Linked DNA regions of Homo sapiens: region 1 is linked to region 2. The links are contacts of gene promoters, found by promoter capture Hi-C in blood cells and fetal thymus (Javierre and others, 2016). All regions are on one chromosome and are shown on one strand. The core of a region is centred on a gene start or on the middle of the fragment in contact, and the rest is flanking DNA. Distances in the headings are between cores, read along the strand shown.

What was found. Contacts are between HindIII fragments. The CHiCAGO score rates a contact against its expected background, and 5 or more counts as called.
Region 1: a contact is called between a fragment that was not itself captured here and the fragment with the promoter of SLCO3A1 in region 2, in 2 of 17 cell types (M1 macrophages and non-activated CD4 T cells). The highest score is 5.5, in M1 macrophages.

Annotation. Positions count from the first base shown.
Region 1 is chr15:92,089,656-92,095,006 of GRCh38, reverse strand. SLCO3A1 (solute carrier organic anion transporter family member 3A1) reads right to left here. Exons shown (of 10, transcript NM_013272.4): 3 at 28-126. Among named protein-coding and RNA genes, the nearest start is that of SLCO3A1, 240 kb to the right of the region's middle. RefSeq lists an enhancer at 3,339-4,075. The HindIII fragment of the contact is 3,406 bases long and covers 1,746-5,151 here.
Region 2 is chr15:91,849,522-91,855,071 of GRCh38, reverse strand. SLCO3A1 (solute carrier organic anion transporter family member 3A1) reads right to left here and starts at 1,364. Exons shown (of 10, transcript NM_013272.4): 1 at 984-1,364. The coding sequence starts at 1,163. RefSeq lists silencers at 1,760-1,899, 1,768-1,942. The HindIII fragment of the contact is 9,711 bases long and covers 1-4,401 here.

The DNA.
Region 1 (5,351 bases), core at 2,199-4,698, 240 kb before region 2:
AGGTAGACATGGAGATATATTCCTTACTTGTGTCAATGAAGACCGCATCCACGTAGATTTTGGTACAGAAAGAGCCCAGGATAAACCCGCAGGCTGGTCCAAATACCAGCATCGTGAACAGGATTCCTGAAGGAAGATGAAGAAAAAAATAGATTACAAAACAGAAGCTATTCGATGAGCAAAATCACCAAAGGTCAAGGAGATTATTTTACATTGATGAGATGAGATGACATTAGGAATTCATCTAAAAATCCTAGAGGGGAAAGGCTGAATTTCTAATTTTTGGAAACTCTATGAAAGCACTGTATATTATGCTACAATTCTATAGTATTTCAGGTAGGTTGCTTTGAAATTTGTGTCCCTTACTTTTAGAGGACTTCACCCCACATCAAACATATTAAAATACATCCGCATCTATCATTAAATATTTTTTCTGCCATCCACACTTTTGAAAAGGCTTTTATAATTTTGCTTTTACATTTACTTACTTTTATGTAACTTATTTAATTTATGGTTGGCTAAGATCCCTTGACACCCACTGTGCAAACTCAAGAATTTTTTGTGAAGTGAGGATAATCTATGCCACAAATTATTTTCAAATATAATAAAACGTTCAAGACTCCGAAATTCAGCAAATAACAAAGTTCACACGATGGTAAATATCTAACATTTAATTACACATTTATTAATTTCAATTCTTCAATTTCTGTCCACGTTTTGAAGTCATTATCTGTTTCCACTGTTGTTGTGGCTGCTTGTAACAGCTGTTCAGGAATTAAGTGATTCTGTAGCACTTGAGAAAATGGCAGGCTCTGGGCAGTGCTTAAGTATCTGATCGATACAATACCTGGTATTTTACACAGAAATTTTAGGACATTCTGGGAAAAGTACTGATCCCAAATTCAAACCCACAGGCTGTATCTATTTAAATTTCAATTTGGTAGACATTTCTTGAGCACTGACAGTTCTCCAGGCCCTGGAGGCAAAAATAAGAGTCCAGAAAGTGGCCCTTCCCTTTAGAAGCTGGCCATCTGATGAGGACAGTCAGTGCATGGGTAATTCCAGGCCAGGCAGCTCCAAGGTTGGGTGCTAACAGGCCACACGGGCACCTGGAGAGCAGGGTGAGAGATGAATGTCACTTGCTGGGAACCTAAGCCCAGTGGAGGGTAGCTCTCCAGCCTAGTCTGTTCATAGGCGTAGACCAACTCACCCTAAATTCTCTCGGTGATGTCATTGTGGAACCAATCACATATTCATCCATTCAGTCAAGTTTTACTGAGCTCCTTCTATGTGCCAAGTACTATTCTCAGGGTTGGGGATTCAGCATTGAACCAACCAGTAAAAATCCTAGCCTCGCTGACTTGAAGCTTTCCCTCCTCCGAACTCATTCATTGACTTGAGGTGGGGAAAAACAACTTAAACTACACAGAGGAAGGCAAATGGTTTTTAAATACCGGGCAAAGGAAGCCGCGTAATATAGTTTGCATGTTTGTCCCCTCCAAATCTCATGTTGAAGTGTAATCCATAATATTGGAGGTGGGGCCTAGTGGGAGGTATTAGATCATGGGGGCAGACCCCTTATGAATGGCTCAGCACCGCCCCCTTGGTGATGGGTGTGCTCTCACTCAGTTCACACAAGATCTGATTGTTTAAAGGAATCTGGGACCTCCCCTTCTCCCTCTTGCTCTGGCTCTCGCCACGTAATGTGCCTGCTCCCCCTTTGCCTCCTGCCATGATTGGAAGCTTCTGGAGACCTTCACCAGGAGCAGATGCCAACACCATGCTTCCGGTACTGTCTGCAAAACCCCGAGCCACTCGAATCTCCTTTCTTTGTAAATTACCCAGCCTCAGGTATTTCTTTATAGCAAGGCAAGAATGAACTAACACACATTTACACACGGGAACCCAGAACCCTGAAGCAGTCATTTGAACGGGGCTTATAGGAGATGTCTGATGAAGGAAAGAATGAAGAAAATGTTTTATATCACAGAAACAGGGCTGAGTCCACCCTCAGCAAAATCCTACTTGGATGCGAAGAAATCTGGAAGTTCCACTGTTTCCAAATAGTCACTCCATGGCCAACCAGAAACTGTAGAATCTTATTTCTGTTAATAAGGTGCATTTTAGAAAATGAAAATGTGTCACTTTGGAGAGGAGTGACGTTCACATGATCAGCACATTATCTCTGGTTTGTCATAACTTTAAGATAACCAAGCACACAAAGTTGGGGGCAGGGGATGTTACTGGAAAAGATCTTTCGGAATGGGCTAGAATTAGGGGGCTCTATTTAGTGGGGTTGTGGTTAGGGAGCAGAGCAGCAGGAAGAGGATCTGAGAAAGCAGCAGGAAGTAGAGGGCATGGAGAACAGTTGTCCGAGTCAGAAGCGGCACCCACACTAGACCAGAGAGATTCCTGCAAAGTCCTGAAGCCAGTCATATCCTCCCATCCAGGCTGCAGGCTGTGGTAAGCCAGCAGTCAGAGTTACTGGCACTCTAGAGACGGCTCAGCAAACAAACTCACTGCTCAGGCCTTCCCAAAAGAACGGGACACAGAGCACAGGGATACAATTCTCTTGCCATGGGTGCTGTGCCTACCCTTCTTGACTCATCTGCTGTGACTCCCGGCACCTCCCCCATCACCCATAATCATAGCCCTTCTTCCCTTAAATAAATCCCCCAAGCAATGTATTCGTCACTGATCCATGCCCTACAGACTGAATAATGAGAATTATTATTAATACTTAATGGGTCAAAGGACCAAGCCTTCAGCATCCTTGGAAAAACAGAAACAACCAACAAGCTGAAGGGGTTGCATCGAGACTGTGCTGTTATCCCCATGCTTGGGGACAGTACAGTTGAAAGTGAGGACTAGCCAGACATCATAGCACAATTGGGGTCCCAGGCCTCCTGCCCTCTTGCAGAAAAGGAGGGGCGTCCCTCAAGCTGCTGGCCTCAGCTGTCCACAGGAGCCCCACAGGGCCCAGATGGGCCAGTGACTGGGGATGGTGGCTTGAACAGGGAACAGCAGTGGCCTGCTGTGGAGACACCACACCCTGAGGCAGCCTCTCCACCAAATTCCTCTATGAGAAGGTGTGGGTTTCCAGAGTTTGGATTGTGGCTTTTTCAAGGTCCTGTTCTCATCTGGGTTTCAGCTGAACAAAGATAAGCTAAAAAGGAACAGGACGGAGTTGATAGGACCCCACGCCAAACACCAAAGACATTGTGCACACGTATTTTGGTATAAAAGGCATCTTCCTCCTCAGGTGCAACCTCTGGTCACTTTTCTATGTCGCTCCTCGTCACACGGACCTCAAGGTAAACCACCACCTGCAACGCGTTCTCGAACCTTTTTCAAAGGACAGTCCGGTGGTGGGACGTGGGAGGGGCCTTCGTGCATCGGGAAGTGCCTTCAGAAATATCTTAACAACTGAAACGAGCAGCTTCAGAAGGCCCAGATGTGCAAGGCAGGTTCTGAGCTAACAACGGTTATGCTGAGCTTTCTTCCTTGGTTTCCCCCTTAATTCATCCTGCCAGGCTGTGATTTTGTTCTTGTTTTGGCAAAGCCAGCTCGAATGTTCTGCCTGAATGGAGGAGGAGCAGATTGCCAGGTACTGAGATGCAGGATCCCTGTGGAAGGAAGGGCCAGCGCCTCCAGGTGCAGAACCTTCTGCAGCGGCCCGGTGCTGCCCCCTGCTGTCTTCCAGGTTCATGTATGTCGGTGGGGAGGAGAGCCTGGGATTCCCTAGTCAGGGAGGTCTGAAGGCTTTCTTTGCTACTACCCTGGATAATTGAAAGCACTTTACATGCCTGATCTCCTGGAAGCCATTCAATGACCCCAGGGGGAAGTTTACTGGGCCTGTTTCACAGCGGAAAAACAGAATCTTAGAGTGGTTCAGCACCTGGCCCCAGCACGTTGCTAGAAAGCAGCACAGTGGGAAGGATTGCCCAGGTTTTCTAACCCCCTAAGGGAAAAGTCCAGGTGAGAGTATGAACAGCCTGGGTTCAAATCCCAGCTCTACCACTTCCCAGCTCCATGAACCTTTGGGCAAAGTACATTTAACCTCCCATGCCTCAGCTTCTTCTTCTGTAAAGTGGGGGTAACAATAGATCGACTTCATGGGGTTGTGGTGAGGATTGAATGACCTCCTATTTGCAAACCTCTTAGAAAAGTGTCTGGCATACAGAAAGACCCAGGGAAGGGTTTGTTAAATAGATGACACCTGTGACTCTCCTACAACGAGGGCTGGCACCCACCTGGGTTCCCAGTCCTTCTCTTTCCAAAGCTCACTACACCCTCCATACCTCATTTCTTAAAGCTATCTTTGGGGGAGAGGGGCTGGAGCTGGGAGCAGGCCAGGCCCAGGAAGGAGTTCTTGCTGGGAAACAGCTGTAATCTCAAGCCTCATCAGCATCCAGACTGACTGGATGTCCGGAGTCCACCCCACTGATCTGCTGCTTGCCAAGCCAAGCACATTGGCACACTGGGTTGCCAGCCCGACCTCCCAGGGATGAGATGGCTGGACAAGGGGACAAGGGTTTGAATGCAGTGCTCCCCTGCATGGTGATCTGGCTCTGGCATTCTGTACACAGGCCTTCAGTGAATTAGCACAAATCTTCAGTTTACAGACTGTGCTGGGACACCATTGGGTACTGCAGTGAACTCACAGGGGTAAGGCAGAATATCTTGAGTTTCTAAGGGAAACACAGCAATACCTGACATCTCTTGGACATGTGAATCTACTATCCCAAGGTAGCCTATGGTGTCAACACTGGATTTCTTTCAGTGACATTACATCTTTGTGAGCTGAGTTTTCCATAGTTGCTGTGAGAAAACCAAGTGTGGAAATCAATATGCACAGAAAATGAGGGTGGCAATGTCCAATCTGATTCCAAGGTTTCAGAAACTGTGCAGTTGCCAACAGGGACACACATCCCATTAGTAAGCGATTATGACTAAAATATATATATATTTTCTGTTGATACGTATCATGGTTTTCGAGCAGCTACTCTATGTTGTGAGGATAGCAACACTTACTAAGCAGTATGAGCCTAACTGCTTGATAAACAAAACTACTACGTATTTCTTTTGGACTCAGGACGCTGTGAACCAAGTAAGTTTGGGACCCTCTGTTGCAAATTTGCCTGAGAAGCTTATTATCTCAACTTATACCCAGATGATGAAGAGTTTCTGCCCATGACAGATTAGTCTAGGTATACACTACGGCAAATTCCTTAAGAAAACGACCTCCAGCAAGACTTCCTGGTGGTGAGTCTGCCTTTTCCCGCACTATATAATCTTTAAATTCAGCACCAGCCACCTCTGGACCCTGGGGAAGAAAAGATAACTTGGAC
Region 2 (5,550 bases), core at 115-2,614:
ATAGCCAAGTAATGATTTAACACTATAAACTCTCAAAAAAAATTTCCCGTTTAGACAGGACTGTACTTAGGTGTGGAAGCACGCTCTCTGGAACTCAAGTTGCGACCACCTGAGCAGAGGAGGCGAAAGCGACAAAGTAGGTACCTGACAGTGCTGAGTCATTACAAGCTGTTTCCTCTGAAATGTTACGCACCCATGGGCCCTCTGAGCATTAACATCCCCTTTCTGGAGGCAAATAAAATACATATTCATTGTGGAAAATGGTGCAACCTTCTGTAGGCGACAGACCACGATGGGGAATTTAGCACTAAGAGTGGATAGCAGGAACTACACAAACTCGCAGCTGCTCTCTAGGTACCGTAACTTTATCCCAGACGCTCAAAGAGGGCTATAGGGATACCGGGTGGCAATATTCCCCCTGCAGCCCCGGCTCAGGCCAGGGCCACACTAGGGCGCATTTCACTCTAAGCTGTTATATCCCCCTGTAATTGGCGGATGTAGAAAGCGCCCGGAGAAAATGATGCATAATAGATTTGTTCTCGAGGAGGATGCAATGGAGAGTAGAGGACGCAGGATGCTAACTGGTTTTTCTTCCCATGTGCAGGTCACCTGAAAACCCCGACGCTTTTTCGTTCCTCTCCAAGGAGAACCCTGAACTCACCGTCTCGCTCCGCTCTTATGGGGGGAGAGGAATAGTTTCACGCCCACCTGCCCGCCGCCTCTCCTCCCCCGGCACCCCCTGCCCCAGCCGGACGCGCGCGAGCTGCTACCGGCATCAACGGTCCCGCCCGCTACCCGCTCGCTGGCAGCCCCGGCCGGCAGCTCCCCCGGCGGCCGCCTCTGCACCACTCGCCAACCTCCACGCCGGGCCGAGGTCATGCCCGCCTGCCCCCAGCGCCGGGCGGCCCCCTCGTCGGGCCAGGCGGCCGCTCGAGAGCCGGGCTGGGGAAGGGGCCCGCGGCGGAGTTGGCTCGGGGACTCACCAGGTAGGCGCCCACCGTGCCCTGCGCCAGCATCAGGGCGCACTCGGACACCAGGAAGATCTTGATGTTGGAAAAGCAGGACACCTTCTTTTTCTTTTTCTTGTTCCTCTGCGCCTCGTCCCCCTGCAGCTCGCCGCTCCGGCCGCCGCCCGACGAACCGCCCGGCTTCTTCCCCTGCATCCTTCCCCCGCCGCCGCCGCCGCCGCCGCCGCTGCCGCTTTCCCGCTCGCCCCGGGTGTCGGGGCCGCTGCCGGGCGGGGGTGCGCGCCTCGAGGCTGCGTGCTGTCCCCGCCCCGGGTTCGCGGCGGCCGCCCCCGTCCTGCCGGGGCTGGAGAGGTGGAAGGCACAGCTCCTCGCCGCCGCCGCCGCCGCCGCGATCGCCCCTTCCTCCTCCTCCTCCCCCGCCTCCGCCCTCCCCTGGCCTCCTCCTCCGGCTCCGGCTGTGCCAATCACAGGGGCTCGTCGCGCCGCCCGCCGCCGCCGCTGCCTCGCCTCCCGCGGCCGCCCGCCGCTGCCATCGCCCGGTTCCCCTTGCCCGCCGGCCGCGCCTGCTCTCACCCCCTCAGCCCCAGCCCCAAGGCCTGGGCCTGGGCCGCCGCTGCGCGCCCTCGCCGAGCCGCTCCTCGCTGCCGGTGCGCCCCCGGGGAGGCACGGGAGGCGGGCTTGGGATGCGGAGGGCGGCCCGGCGGCCGAGGCTGGGAGGGTCCGGCTGCCGGGAGAACTGGGGAGACCCGGAGTCCTTGCGGAGTAAGGGGGGTGCCCCTGAGGGCGGGAGGCGGCGCCCGGCCCCTAGGTGGCGCTGCGGGGCACGGGGCCCCGCGGCGGAGACTGGCGGCTCTGCGCCGGGCGCGGAGATGGGGTGCGGAGGCGCCCCCGCGGGGCTGGGACCCGGCGCTCGGGAACCCGGGTGCCCAGGCCTCAGAGGGCAGGCTGTTCCCAGGAAGGGAGAATACTGAGTACCCAGGAAGGGCTTGGCGCGCGCTCTTCTCCGCCCGGGGATTTCTGGGGACAGATGTTGTGCTCTGGGTCTTGGGGAGGTGCCAGAGGTCAGAGCTGCTTGAGGCTTCTGCCGCCTGCCGGTTTCTGCCCCAGCTGTCCCCGGCCACAGGGGGTGTTGAAAAGGCCCCAGACCGAAAGGACAGAAAGGGGAAGTTAGAGGAATACGTCGGGAGCCCCACGGACCGTTAGTGCCCCAGCCTCGGTGTCCAGGCGCTGCAAGATCGCCGCGGCCCCAGCAGAGGGCCTTCTCCGGCCCTTCATCCGCCCAGGGCCCCGCTGCTGGAGCGCTCAGCAAGCGGCCAGCCGCAGGCCTGCTGGGTCCCCACCCGTCCCCTGGCTCTGTGGCCCTGGCCACCATCCTCGGCCTTGACCTGAATGCCTGGCCCATGGCAGCCGCTCCTAATTACTCCCCACTCTCACCGTTACCAAGGAGTGTGGGCCACAGGGCACTACCAATAGGATCTGCTAGTTCTCAACTGCAGCGTTTGGAAGCTGAGAGAAAAGCTCAGAGGGCTGGACAGGTACCAGGAAACAGCACCTTCCACCTGGGCCATTGGGGGACTCAAGGAATCATTTAAAACGGTTTCCTTAATAATTGTGTCAAAGAAAATGACCCACTCTCCCAAGCGCCTGTGTCCAAATGCAGGCTCAACTTCAAAACTGAATAGCAATGAACCCGACCATATTTTTCCTTTCTCCCGAAGAACTTGAATGAGAATGGAGGGTGTAATGGTGGGGATGTTGTTTTGCCATGGCATTTAAATATAAACTGCTTCATCCTTCTGTGGCTCCAGACGTGATCTCACCCAGGCTTGGTGTCGCTTTGAGATGCCCTCACCTTGTCTAGGCCACCTCCTATCTGAATTGGCTCCCCCCACACTTGAAGTCTCTTCCCGTCTTCCCCACTTCCTGAATCAGTGGTCACACCATTCCCGGCCAGTCCTATAATGAGAATCCTTACTGCCCCCTTCTTTCTTCCCCACACCCTCCTATCACTCGGAGCCAACTTCTCTGCAGGATCTTTATGTCCCCCTCTTTCCCTCCCCATCACTTTGCTTCATGGGCTACCTCCCCACTTCCTCCTGAGAAGACCCTTGACAAGCTAGCTCTGTTCCCTGCCTCTGTGACGGTAAGCTGCAAAGCTGAGCTGAGACTTGTCTACGAATGGTGACCCCATTGCTAATGAAATGTGCGGAGTGCTTTATAGTCTTCAACTCTTATTTACATTCTTTGTAATAACAAGAGCTAATGTTTACTGTGTGCTTATTATGGCCAGACACCATTCTCAGTGCTTCACCCGCATTTACAACGTAATCCTCACAGCAATCCTCTAAACCAGATACTATTATTAGCCTTGTTTTACAGATGAGACAACTGAGGCCTAGAAAGGTTAACCTGACCAGTGTCACTTGTCTAGTAAGTGGCAGGGCAAGTCTTTGAAAACCAGGTTGTCTGCCATCATAGCCCAGGTTCTTTATAACTACATACATATTATCTCGTTTATCACGCAGTGTGGTTCATCTGATGGGGAGGCTGGGACTTATGTTGTTCCTCTTTTATAAAGCTGGAAAGGAACAAAACTTGCATCCATGTCCAGCCCTTTTTGTTCTTTTTTGTTTGTTTGTTTGTTTGAGATGGAGTTTCGCTCTTGTTGCCCAGGCTGGAGTGCAATGGTGCGATCTCGGCCCATGGCAACCTCCACCTCCCGGGTTTCAGTGATTCTCCTGCCTCAGCCTCTGGAGTAGCTGGAATTACAGACGTGCCACCACACCCGGCTAATTTTGTATTTTTAATAGAGACGGGGTTTCTTAATGTTGGTCAGGCTGGTCTCGAACTCTGATCTCAGGTGATCCACCTGCCTCAGCCTCCCAAAGTGCTGGGATTACAGGCATGAGCCACCACGCCCGGCCAGCCCTTTTTGTTCTATGCCACAATGCCTCATGTACAGACTGAGAAGGGCACAGCCTTCTTTCAGCTTAACCATTTATTTTAGATTAAAAAATTAGCTGTCTTTAGAGAAATCACACACTTTTGCTGTCAGATAAAGGATTTCGGATTAGGGTTGTGGATTCTTCCTATAATTAATGGTAAGCAGCCATGAAAGTAATCCTGGTGCCTGAAGCCTAAAGAATCATCAAAGTCAGCCTCAGGGAAATCAGGCTGCGGCCTCACAACAGTCAGAAAGAAGGAATTTAACAAGTTCAACTCCCTTCCTTCTTTGCTCATCCTTTATTTACTTGTAGATCAGGGCTCCAGGGATGATAAGGTGGGTTTATGAGCACCAAGTGCTTCTGCTTGGCATTCCCCTAGCCCCGTATGCAGATAGAGGAAGCAGCAGAAAAATAGTAAACATCCTTGTATCTGTACAGCACGTTAATGCTTATGAAGTACTTCTATGTCCTGTATCTCAGCTGAAGCTTACAACAGGGAGAGCTGGTCTTATTAGCCCCTTTTTTTTCTCAAAAGAAACAACAGTAGGTGGATTTTGGGAGCTCACCGCCAGCAAGTGGCAGGAATTGAGTCTACATTTGCCACCCCAAATTGGTGGGAGTGAGAGGTGAAGCCAGCTGGACTTCCTGGGTCGGATGGGGACTTGGAGAACTTTTCTGTCTCACAAGAGCATTGTAAAATGCACCAATCAGCACTCTGTAGCTAGCTAGAGGTTTGTAAAATGCACCAATCAGTGCTCTGTAAAAACGCACCAATCGGTGCTCTGTAGCTAGCTAGAGGTTTGTAAAATGGACCAATCAGCACTCTGAAAAATGGACCAATCAGCAGGACATGAGTGGGGACAAATAAGGGAACAAAAGCTGCCCCACCCCCCCCCCCCCCCACGCTGTGGAAGCTTTGTTCTTTTGCTCTTCACAATAAATCTTGCTGCTACTCACTCTTTGGGTCCGTGCCACCTTTAAGAGCTGTAACACTCACCGCAAAGGTCCGCAGCTTCATTCTTGAAGTCAGCGAGACCACGAACCCACAGGAAGGAACCAACTCCTGACACGGGAGCAGGGAGGAGAAAGAAAGGGAGGTAGAGGGGGTTTAACCCTTCCATGAACTGCAGTGCCCCCTCCAACAAGCCTCTGAAATAGACGGTTAACACTCATGTGAGCAGGAAAGCCGACAACTTAAACCCCATTAAAGGCCTCAACTGGGCTTCCTTAAATGTTGCCTTGGAGAAATGCTGTAACCTCCACTTCCATGCTAGGGCCTTTTTCATTCATCTCTCCCTCTAGTGGTGGATGGTGAATTTAGGAAGAGGTTGGTATTATGAATGACTCTAGAACCTTTATGATTATTTTAGCCTCTCAACTACTTTCTGGACTAGATGACTTTTCAAGATGAAAATATTGCTAGCTAAGGCTGTGGTTCCGTGATTCCTTACTTTGTTGGCTACTAGAGGTATTCTAAACATTGAGAAGCCAAGTAATCTTAAAATCTGATGTGGGGAAGCAAAAAAGAAAGTGGGGTGACATGAGAAGATAAACTGGCTTTTGGTTCGTAAGATATTGATAAGCTATAGGTAAATGCTTAGTGATCAGGATTTGAAGAGCTTTCCTCCCTCATTTTA